Linked DNA regions of Homo sapiens: all the other regions are linked to region 3. Evidence: promoter capture Hi-C in 16 types of primary human blood cells and fetal thymus (Javierre and others, 2016). All regions are on one chromosome and are shown on one strand. The core of a region is centred on a gene start or on the middle of the fragment in contact, and the rest is flanking DNA. Distances in the headings are between cores, read along the strand shown.

Evidence for each region. The method cuts DNA at HindIII sites, captures the fragments that hold promoters and counts their contacts. A CHiCAGO score of 5 or more calls a contact.
Region 1: a fragment that was not itself captured here is called in contact with the fragment with the promoter of NKX2-4 in region 3 in 1 of 17 cell types (activated CD4 T cells); the score reaches 8.2 in activated CD4 T cells.
Region 2: a contact is called between a fragment that was not itself captured here and the fragment with the promoter of NKX2-4 in region 3, in 1 of 17 cell types (activated CD4 T cells). The highest score is 5.4, in activated CD4 T cells.

What each region holds. Positions count from the first base shown.
Region 1 is chr20:21,305,769-21,308,468 of GRCh38, reverse strand. The region is part of intron 1 of XRN2 (5'-3' exoribonuclease 2); the gene reads right to left. Among named protein-coding and RNA genes, the nearest start is that of XRN2, 3.8 kb to the right of the region's middle. The HindIII fragment of the contact is 4,700 bases long and covers 1-2,700 here.
Region 2 is chr20:21,330,456-21,333,155 of GRCh38, reverse strand. It overlaps XRN2 (5'-3' exoribonuclease 2), which reads right to left. Exons shown (of 30, transcript NM_012255.5): 5 at 2,617-2,675; 6 at 2,451-2,540; 7 at 1,523-1,595; 8 at 1,338-1,388; 9 at 716-873. Among named protein-coding and RNA genes, the nearest start is that of XRN2, 28 kb to the right of the region's middle. The HindIII fragment of the contact is 513 bases long and covers 1,006-1,518 here.
Region 3 is chr20:21,396,183-21,398,882 of GRCh38, reverse strand. NKX2-4 (NK2 homeobox 4) reads left to right here and starts at 1,357. Exons shown (of 2, transcript NM_033176.2): 1 at 1,357-1,925; 2 at 2,350-2,700. The coding sequence starts at 1,484. It overlaps LOC105372558 (a long non-coding RNA gene), which reads right to left and starts at 949. Exons shown (of 4, transcript XR_001754528.1): 1 at 307-949. The HindIII fragment of the contact is 6,496 bases long and covers 1-2,700 here.

The DNA of each region.
Region 1 (2,700 bases), core at 136-2,635, 90 kb after region 3:
CAATGTAAAATGGCACAACCAGTTTGAAAAAAAAAGTCTGGCAGGTTTTTCTTTTTAAGTAATCACACACCTAATATACAATCCAACCATTTCACTCCTAATGTTTTTCCCCCAAACAAATGCAAGCATACGTCCCTACAATGACTTGTACAGAGATGTTCATAGGTTTCTTTTTCAGAAAGCCAAAAACTGGAAACAATCCCAATGTTCATCAATCATCTGAATAAATAAATAAAATGTGGTGTATCTACACACAGAATACTATCCAAAAATTAAAAGACGAGGCAGGCAGATACTTGAGGTCAGGAGTTCAAGACCAGCCTGGCCAACATGGTGAAACTCCATCTCTACTAAAAATACAAAAATTAGCCGGGTGTGGTGGCATGTGCCTGTAATCCCAGCTGCTTGGGAGGCTGAGGCAGGAGAATTGCTTGAACCCAGAAGGTGGAGGTTGCAGTGAGCCGAGATCGCACCACTGCACTCCAGCCTGGGCGACAGAGCGAGACTCCATCTCAAAAAAAAATAAAAACAAAAAAGAAATAAACTACTGACACATACAACAACGGAAGAATTTCAAAATAAGTATACTGAATGAAAGTAACTGAGGCAAAAAATGAGTATATACTATATAATCTCATTTATAAAAAATTATAGAAAATGAAAACTTATCATACGGTCAGAAAGCAAACCAGTCAGTGGTTGGCAAAAGACAGGTGGCAGGGAGGGATAGTAGAAAGGAACTACAAAAGGGCAGAAGGAATGTTTTAGAGGTCACGTTCACTGTCTTGGTTGTGCTGGTTTCACAGATGTATGCACTGTATTAAATTATATACTTTAAGCCCAGGACTTTGAGGCTGCAGTGAGCCATGATTGCACACTACATTCCAGCCTGGTGACAGAGCAAGACCTCAACTCGAAAAAAGTTAAAAGAAAATTGTACACTTTAATTACCTGCAGTTTATTCTATGTCAAGTATACCTCAACAAAGCTGCAAAAACACCAAAGGTTGGGGGAGGTTTCAAGGAAAGCCAGAGAATGAGAGAGAAAATAAAAATAAAAATACATGAGTCTAAGAGGACCAGTATCCTGAGTCTGGAAAGGGAAGAAAAAAAGGTCAAGAAATCATCAAACAGCATTCCCTAAAACCGAAGAACGTAAGACTCCAGACTCAAAGAGTGAGCCACGTACTGATCAAAATGAATCTGAATTTAAAATAACATCTATACCTGGGTACCTAATAATGAAAGTTTACACTATCAAGAAAAAGATCTTTTTAAAATCTAGGAAGGAAAACTGATCACAAAAGAATGAAAGCATATGAGCATAAAAATTAAGTCCTTCTGGTTTCCACACTAGCTCTGACATTTATCAGCTGAGTGACCTTGGGTATGATACGCGACCCTGCTGTGTTTCCATTTTCTCATCTGAAATAATAATAAACATAACAATAATCATTATTTTTCTGAGATGGAGTCTCGCTCTGTCACCAGGCTGGAGTGCAGTGGCGGGATCTCGGCTCACTGCAATGTCTGTCTCCCGGGTGCAAGTGATTCTCCTGCCTCAGCCTCCCAAGTAGCTGGGACTACAGGCGCGCCACCATGCGCAGCTAATTTTTGTATTTTTAGTAGAGATGGGGTTTCACCATGTTAGCCAGGATGGTCTGGATCTCTTGACCTCGTGATCCACCCACCTCAGCCTCCCAAAGTGCTGGGATTACAGTCGTGAGCCACCGCACCCGGCCAATAAACATAGTAATTATTATAACATAATAACAATATTGGTTGTCTCCAAATAACGTGCTTCTATTATTTGTATGTAATAAAAATAATTACAACAGTAGAAGTCATGTGGTTGTGAGGATCAAACAAGTTATAATAAAGTTCTTAAAACAATGGTAAATGCTATATAACTGCTGGTTAAATAAATACATCACATTAACACCGAACTTGTCATCAACACTACTAGATGAGAGAGTACAAAAGAACAATTTCTTTCAAAGTTCTGAGGGAACCTAATATTAAAACTGGAATTCCTGGCCAGGTGCGGTGGCTCATGCCTGTAATCCCAGCACTTTGGGAGGCAGGGGCTGGTGGATCACCTGAGGTCAGGAGTTCAAGATCAGCTTGGCCAACATGGTGAAACTCCGTCTCTACTAAAACTACAAAAATTAGCCGGGCGTGGTGGCGCGCCTGTAGTCCCAGCTACTCGGGAGGCTGAGGCAGGAGAACGGCTTGAACCCGGGAAGTGGAGGCTGCAGTGAGCCGATATCACACCACTGCACTCCTGCCTGGGTGACAGAGCTAGACTCCGTCTCAAAGAAGAAGAAAAAAAAAACACCTCGAATTCCATGCCTAGCTAATGATCATTCACGTGTATAAGGGTAGAATGGAGCTATTTTGGGTCCTACAATGACTCGGAAATCTCACATCCCACACAGCATTTCTTAAGAATTAAGAATAAGGAGGCCAAGGCAGGCGGATCAGAAGGTCAGGAGATCGAGACCATCCTGGCTAACACGGTGAAACCCCGTCTCTACTAAAAGTACAAAAAAATTAGCCAGGCGTGGTGGCGGGCGCCTGTAGTCCCAGCTACTTAGGAGGCTGAGGCAGGAGAATGGCGTGAACCCCGAAGGCGGAGCTTGCAGTGAGCCGAGATTGATTGAGCCACTGCACTCCAGCCTGGGAGACAGAGCGAGGCTCC
Region 2 (2,700 bases), core at 13-2,512, 66 kb after region 3:
CCTTCCTTGTGAACAGATGTGCATAGATACATGTATACTGTCTTTATTGTATTACATATCTGAAATAATACACTATATTTATCTCTTTTTTCACTTAACGATGTCTTTGAAAGAGGCACCATATTCTTTTTCCCCCCTCAAAAAGCATATGACTCAAGAGGCACCATATTATTGAAACAGAAGCCCCTTTAAAGGGGACTGGACATAACCAAGTGAACCTAAAATACATAAAAAGTGGGAGTAACTTAAAAGTCTTAAGAAGTTGTAGTTCCTTTTAAGAAGAGTATTTCAAACAAATAACTTCCACAAACAAATTACAAGCTATGGGCATTATTATCTATGGGAACTAAGCCTCGTGTAGATATAGGCAATATCAGAAAAAGTGCTAAGTAGAAAGGATGAGTGTGTGCATGTTTTTGAATGCAGGTTTATTTTAAAGTACTTTAAAAGATTCGTCTCTGTCGAGACTGTCTCAAAAGAAAAAAAAAAGAAAAAAGATACATCTCTGTGAAGGGTAACGGTAACAGAACAAGCACATAAAGAACTAATCAACCACAATCTTCTCTTCATCCATTTTAAAAACAAGGTAACTCAAATATTTAATGCTATTTAATTGTATACTTTAAAATGGTTGAAATGATATTTTATGTCATATACATTTTACCACAATAGATTTTTTTTTTTAATGAGGCAACTACCATCTCAAAGTTCTTACCTTTCCCTTCTTTTCTCTTGGCAAACCTTCACAATCTTTGACCTCATGTCCAAACTGATTACAAAGACCACATGGTTTGGGCTTGTTTGGTTTGAATTCTTCTCTAATAATGGTAAAGTTCGGTTCATGTGTGGCAAGGCCAAGCATAATGAGATCAGCTATCAATCAACAATGAGAAAAACATCGAACAGTGAGTATTCTGAGAGAAGTCTTACCATAAACTACTATGAGATGCCAACACAAAGAAAAGCCCAAATGAGCACCCAAATGAGCAGCAAAGCCCCAAAGCTTGACACTTCCTGGCATTTCCCAGTTAACAGGAAGTCCTCTAGATACGTGGACCTACAACATAGACTGCCACTAAGGATTAAACACTTGGGAAATTCTCCATTTTAAAGGTATGGGGAGTTAAAAGGTTGAAAAATGTAAGAAAGAAGAAAAGAAATTAAAGATCATTGACCACAGATTAAACAGCAACTCAATACTAGTTCCCTGTCGAACATAAAATAACCAAGGCATTTTGGAACTTCCAGGTAACCATGAATAATCCATTACTGCACACCAACCCATCAACTTGCTATGGTTTAATCCAAAAGAAGCAAATCCCAAAGAAGAAACTTACCATCTGCTCCACATAAACAATGATGAGTATTTGGGTCATGGTTAGGCTGGGCTAAACAAGAGAGAAACATGTATTTATATTAATATATTATATACCACAAGAATATCACTTCATACCAAGTATTTTCTATGCAATGGCTTTTTAAAAATAGAACATATAATCAAATATTGGTAAGTAAGCTTTACCTCTTTGCCTTCTAATGTAATCCATGATTTTATGTTCTCCTTCACCAGGAGCACTAGCATCAGATAAAATAACCTATAAAAAAATTGTTAACACTTTCAGATTATCCCCAATTTTCTATAGGCACAAAAATCAAAAGAATTATATGTCTCAAGAAAAACTGAGATAAGTGTTACGGGAAAATTTTCTGAATAAGGGTGTGTGTGTGTGTGTGTGTGTGTGTGTGTGTGTGTGTGAAAAACACCAAAACTACTTCACTGAAAATTTTCTGAATAAAGAAGGGGTGTGTGTGTGTGAGAGACACCAAAACCACTTCATTGATTGACTTACTACATGTAATGGAAAGGAATGAAATGTCTGGGTCAGACCTAGCCATCAGAAAAACTGATCATTCACAAGCTCCTATTTTCACTACTATGCAAGGATATAGTGCTGAACCATATATGCCCCAAGAATAATCAATAACACATATCTATAAAATATAATTTACCATTTCTCATTAATAGGGAAGCCAGCTTATGAACCTAAAATTACAAACAAGTTCATTTACATATTATTTAAATATTTGGGAACACAGCCATTTAAGACAGCCCCACAACTTACTAATTTTGCTGTATATTGATATGTAATAATGGAAATTTCCATTTAAAAATTACTTTCCTATATATATTTTTTAAATTATGAATCCCATTTTATAGCTTCATAGTGATGGTAAGAGGACAAAATTGGCTTTAAGAGAAAATTCAGCTATCTAAAACCTAACCATGCAAGGATACCCCATCTCCAAAAACCCTGGAAGCTTTTCTTTCTTCCAACAGTCAACTAGCATTTTATGGGGCAGGGCAGAAGGATAAATAATGTCAGTCATATCAAAGTACAGCCTCGAATGATCACCCTAATCTTTCTGAAGTATCAAAATGTGAAACTTACTGTCAAATTTTTCCACCCAGGGTCATTATTTAAACGATCAGCTATGTAATAGCGAAGGCATTTAGCAAGATTGTCCATGAATTCAGTTCCCTAAAATGATAGAAAGAAATAAATTAACCTATCATTTAAGAGTTAGCAATAGCTAGCAAAGTATGAGACTACTTACTGGTGTAATACAGTTGCTGTCAAATCTTTCTTTTATTTCTTCTGGAGGAAGAAAGCCACCTAGAGAAAAGAGGCAACGTTTTGT
Region 3 (2,700 bases), core at 108-2,607:
AAAACAAAATATTGCTTAAGAAAGCACTCTCCTTGTTTTTCTTTCTCCTGCTCCAGTTTCCAGGAAAACTTAAAAGTGTTATCTTTGTTTTCTCGTTATCATTATTATTGCTGCAAGATTGTTTTCAAAATTTAATCAATATGCTTTGCACACTGCTTTTGTCTTATGCTTTGTCTTGTTCAGTATTTAGTAGAGAGTTCATAATGTCTAAGTATTCGGGTAAAACTGCAAGTCAAAGGATGACAAAGTTTTAAAAATCTGTTTATCTATGGTTTTGTATTTTTCCAAAGAAACTACAATTTTCACCTGATTTCTGCATCCATTTTCATATCGCTTGAACAGGTTATATTTTTCCAACAACAACAAAAAGACCCGTTGCGAACAACTAGAAATATTTGGAAGTTTTGATATTTTGTCTTTCTCTTCTTTTTGATCACGGTAGTGATGGGAGAATAAACTTAAGTCAGAGATATTTACTGAGAGAAAGAGAGTAAGAACACACACAAAGGGAAAGAAAGCAGAAAAAACTTTACAAGTGCAAACTCAGTAGGAAACATTTTAGGAAATAAAAATGTTCCCCCTCTTTCCCTTGTTCAATTTCCATCCCCACAGAGGAAAAACAGAATACTTACAAGTTAGCATCTGCGTATTTATCAGTGTATGTGTGTTTTCTCTCTTCTCTGGGCTTGGATACTTTGAGCTAATTTGGAAGTGCCCGTTTGGTTGCCCACAAAATGATGCTTAAGGGTCTAAAAACGCATAAATTAGGGAGCCCTACAATGGCAAAGGACGGTCATTGTACCTCCTCTCTTTATGCGCTCTTACGGTGGGACCCAAGAGCCTTTTTTTTTTTTTTTAACACTTTAGGTGATGGAGCGAATGAGGGGCTGATAACTGGAGAGGACGAAGCAAGCCCCCGCAACACCCTCCCCCCAAACTTAGCAGCACGTTCCCCATTCCGCAATTATACCGGACTTTGGTGCGAAGTCACTTTAGAAAACTGGGATCTGGAAGGGGCCAGGCGCGGAGTCCATGTCTAGCCTCGACGCCAGCCTCCGAGTTTCTATTTCTGGTGCTCGAGGGCTGGGGTAACGGCCGCGGATGGAGGAGCGAAGGATGGGAAAAGCAAAGGATGGGAAAAGCAAAGATGGGAAAAGCAACGGGGAGTGATCTTTCCAAGAAACACCCAACTGCCCCTTTTACCTTTTTTTGCCTCCATTATGGGGCGGGGGTTGGGGGGGCGAGAGAAAAAGATGTCAATGACCATTGTTTGCTCGTTTGGGATGTTGCTCCGCCCCCCGAGTCTGTCGTAAACCTGGCGCCGGACTAAAATAAACCCCAGATCCCGCAGCCCGGGGGGCTCGCCGAGCCGCCGACTCCTCGTCACAGGCTCAGCTGCCGCGGCCGAGGTGGCGGCGACGAGCGGCCGCCGCGTCCTGCCGGCGCGCGCCCCAGGCCCCCCTACCTGGCTGCCCGCCGAGCCATGTCGTTGAGCCCAAAGCACACGACGCCCTTCTCCGTGTCCGACATCCTGAGCCCCATCGAGGAGACCTACAAGAAGTTCAGCGGCGCCATGGACGGCGCGCCACCCGGCCTGGGGGCGCCCCTGGGGGCCGCGGCCGCCTACCGCGCGCCGCCACCTGGGCCCTCCTCGCAGGCGGCGACCGTGGCGGGCATGCAGCCTTCTCACGCCATGGCGGGTCACAACGCGGCGGCCGCGGCGGCGGCGGCAGCAGCTGCGGCGGCGGCGGCCGCCACCTACCACATGCCGCCCGGCGTCTCGCAGTTCCCGCACGGCGCCATGGGCAGCTACTGCAACGGCGGCCTGGGCAACATGGGCGAGCTGCCCGCCTACACGGACGGCATGCGGGGCGGCGCGGCCACCGGCTGGTACGGCGCCAACCCGGACCCACGCTACTCGTCAAGTGAGAGGGGCCAGGAGCGCGGGGCTGCGGGCGGCTCAGGCGTTTCCCGCCACAGCCGAGGGGCGCGGGGGCGCGGGACGGGGTGCGCGCGGCTTAGGAGGTCCTGGGGCCGAGCGGGCGCGCGGGGCGTCCTGGGACGCGGCCCGGGACGCGCGGGGTTTCTGGGGACCCTGGGCGCGCGGGGGGTCCTGGGACCTGACCGGGAACGCGCGCGGCGTCCTGGGACCCGTTGAGGGCGTGGTGCTCTGGGACCCGCCGAGGGCGCGCGGGGCGTGCTGGGGCCGGAGGCCGCGGCGGTCAGGGGGTCTTGGGATTCAGCGAGGGCCCGGCGGCGTCGCGGCCGCGGCGTGAAGAGAGCGGCGGCTGGACCGGCTCCCGGCGGGCCTGGAGCTCACTCGCCTTCCCCCTTGGGACTCTTCCCCAGTCTCCAGGTTCATGGGGCCGTCGGCGGGCGTGAATGTGGCCGGCATGGGGTCGCTGACCGGCATCGCGGACGCCGCCAAGTCGCTGGGCCCGCTGCACGCGGCGGCGGCGGCAGCCGCTCCGCGAAGGAAGCGCCGCGTGCTCTTCTCGCAGGCGCAGGTCTACGAGCTGGAGCGGCGCTTCAAGCAGCAGAAGTACCTGTCGGCGCCCGAGCGCGAGCACCTGGCCAGCATGATCCACCTGACGCCCACGCAGGTCAAGATCTGGTTCCAGAACCACCGGTACAAGATGAAACGGCAGGCCAAGGACAAGGCGGCGCAGCAGCTGCAGCAGGAGGGCGGCCTGGGCCCGC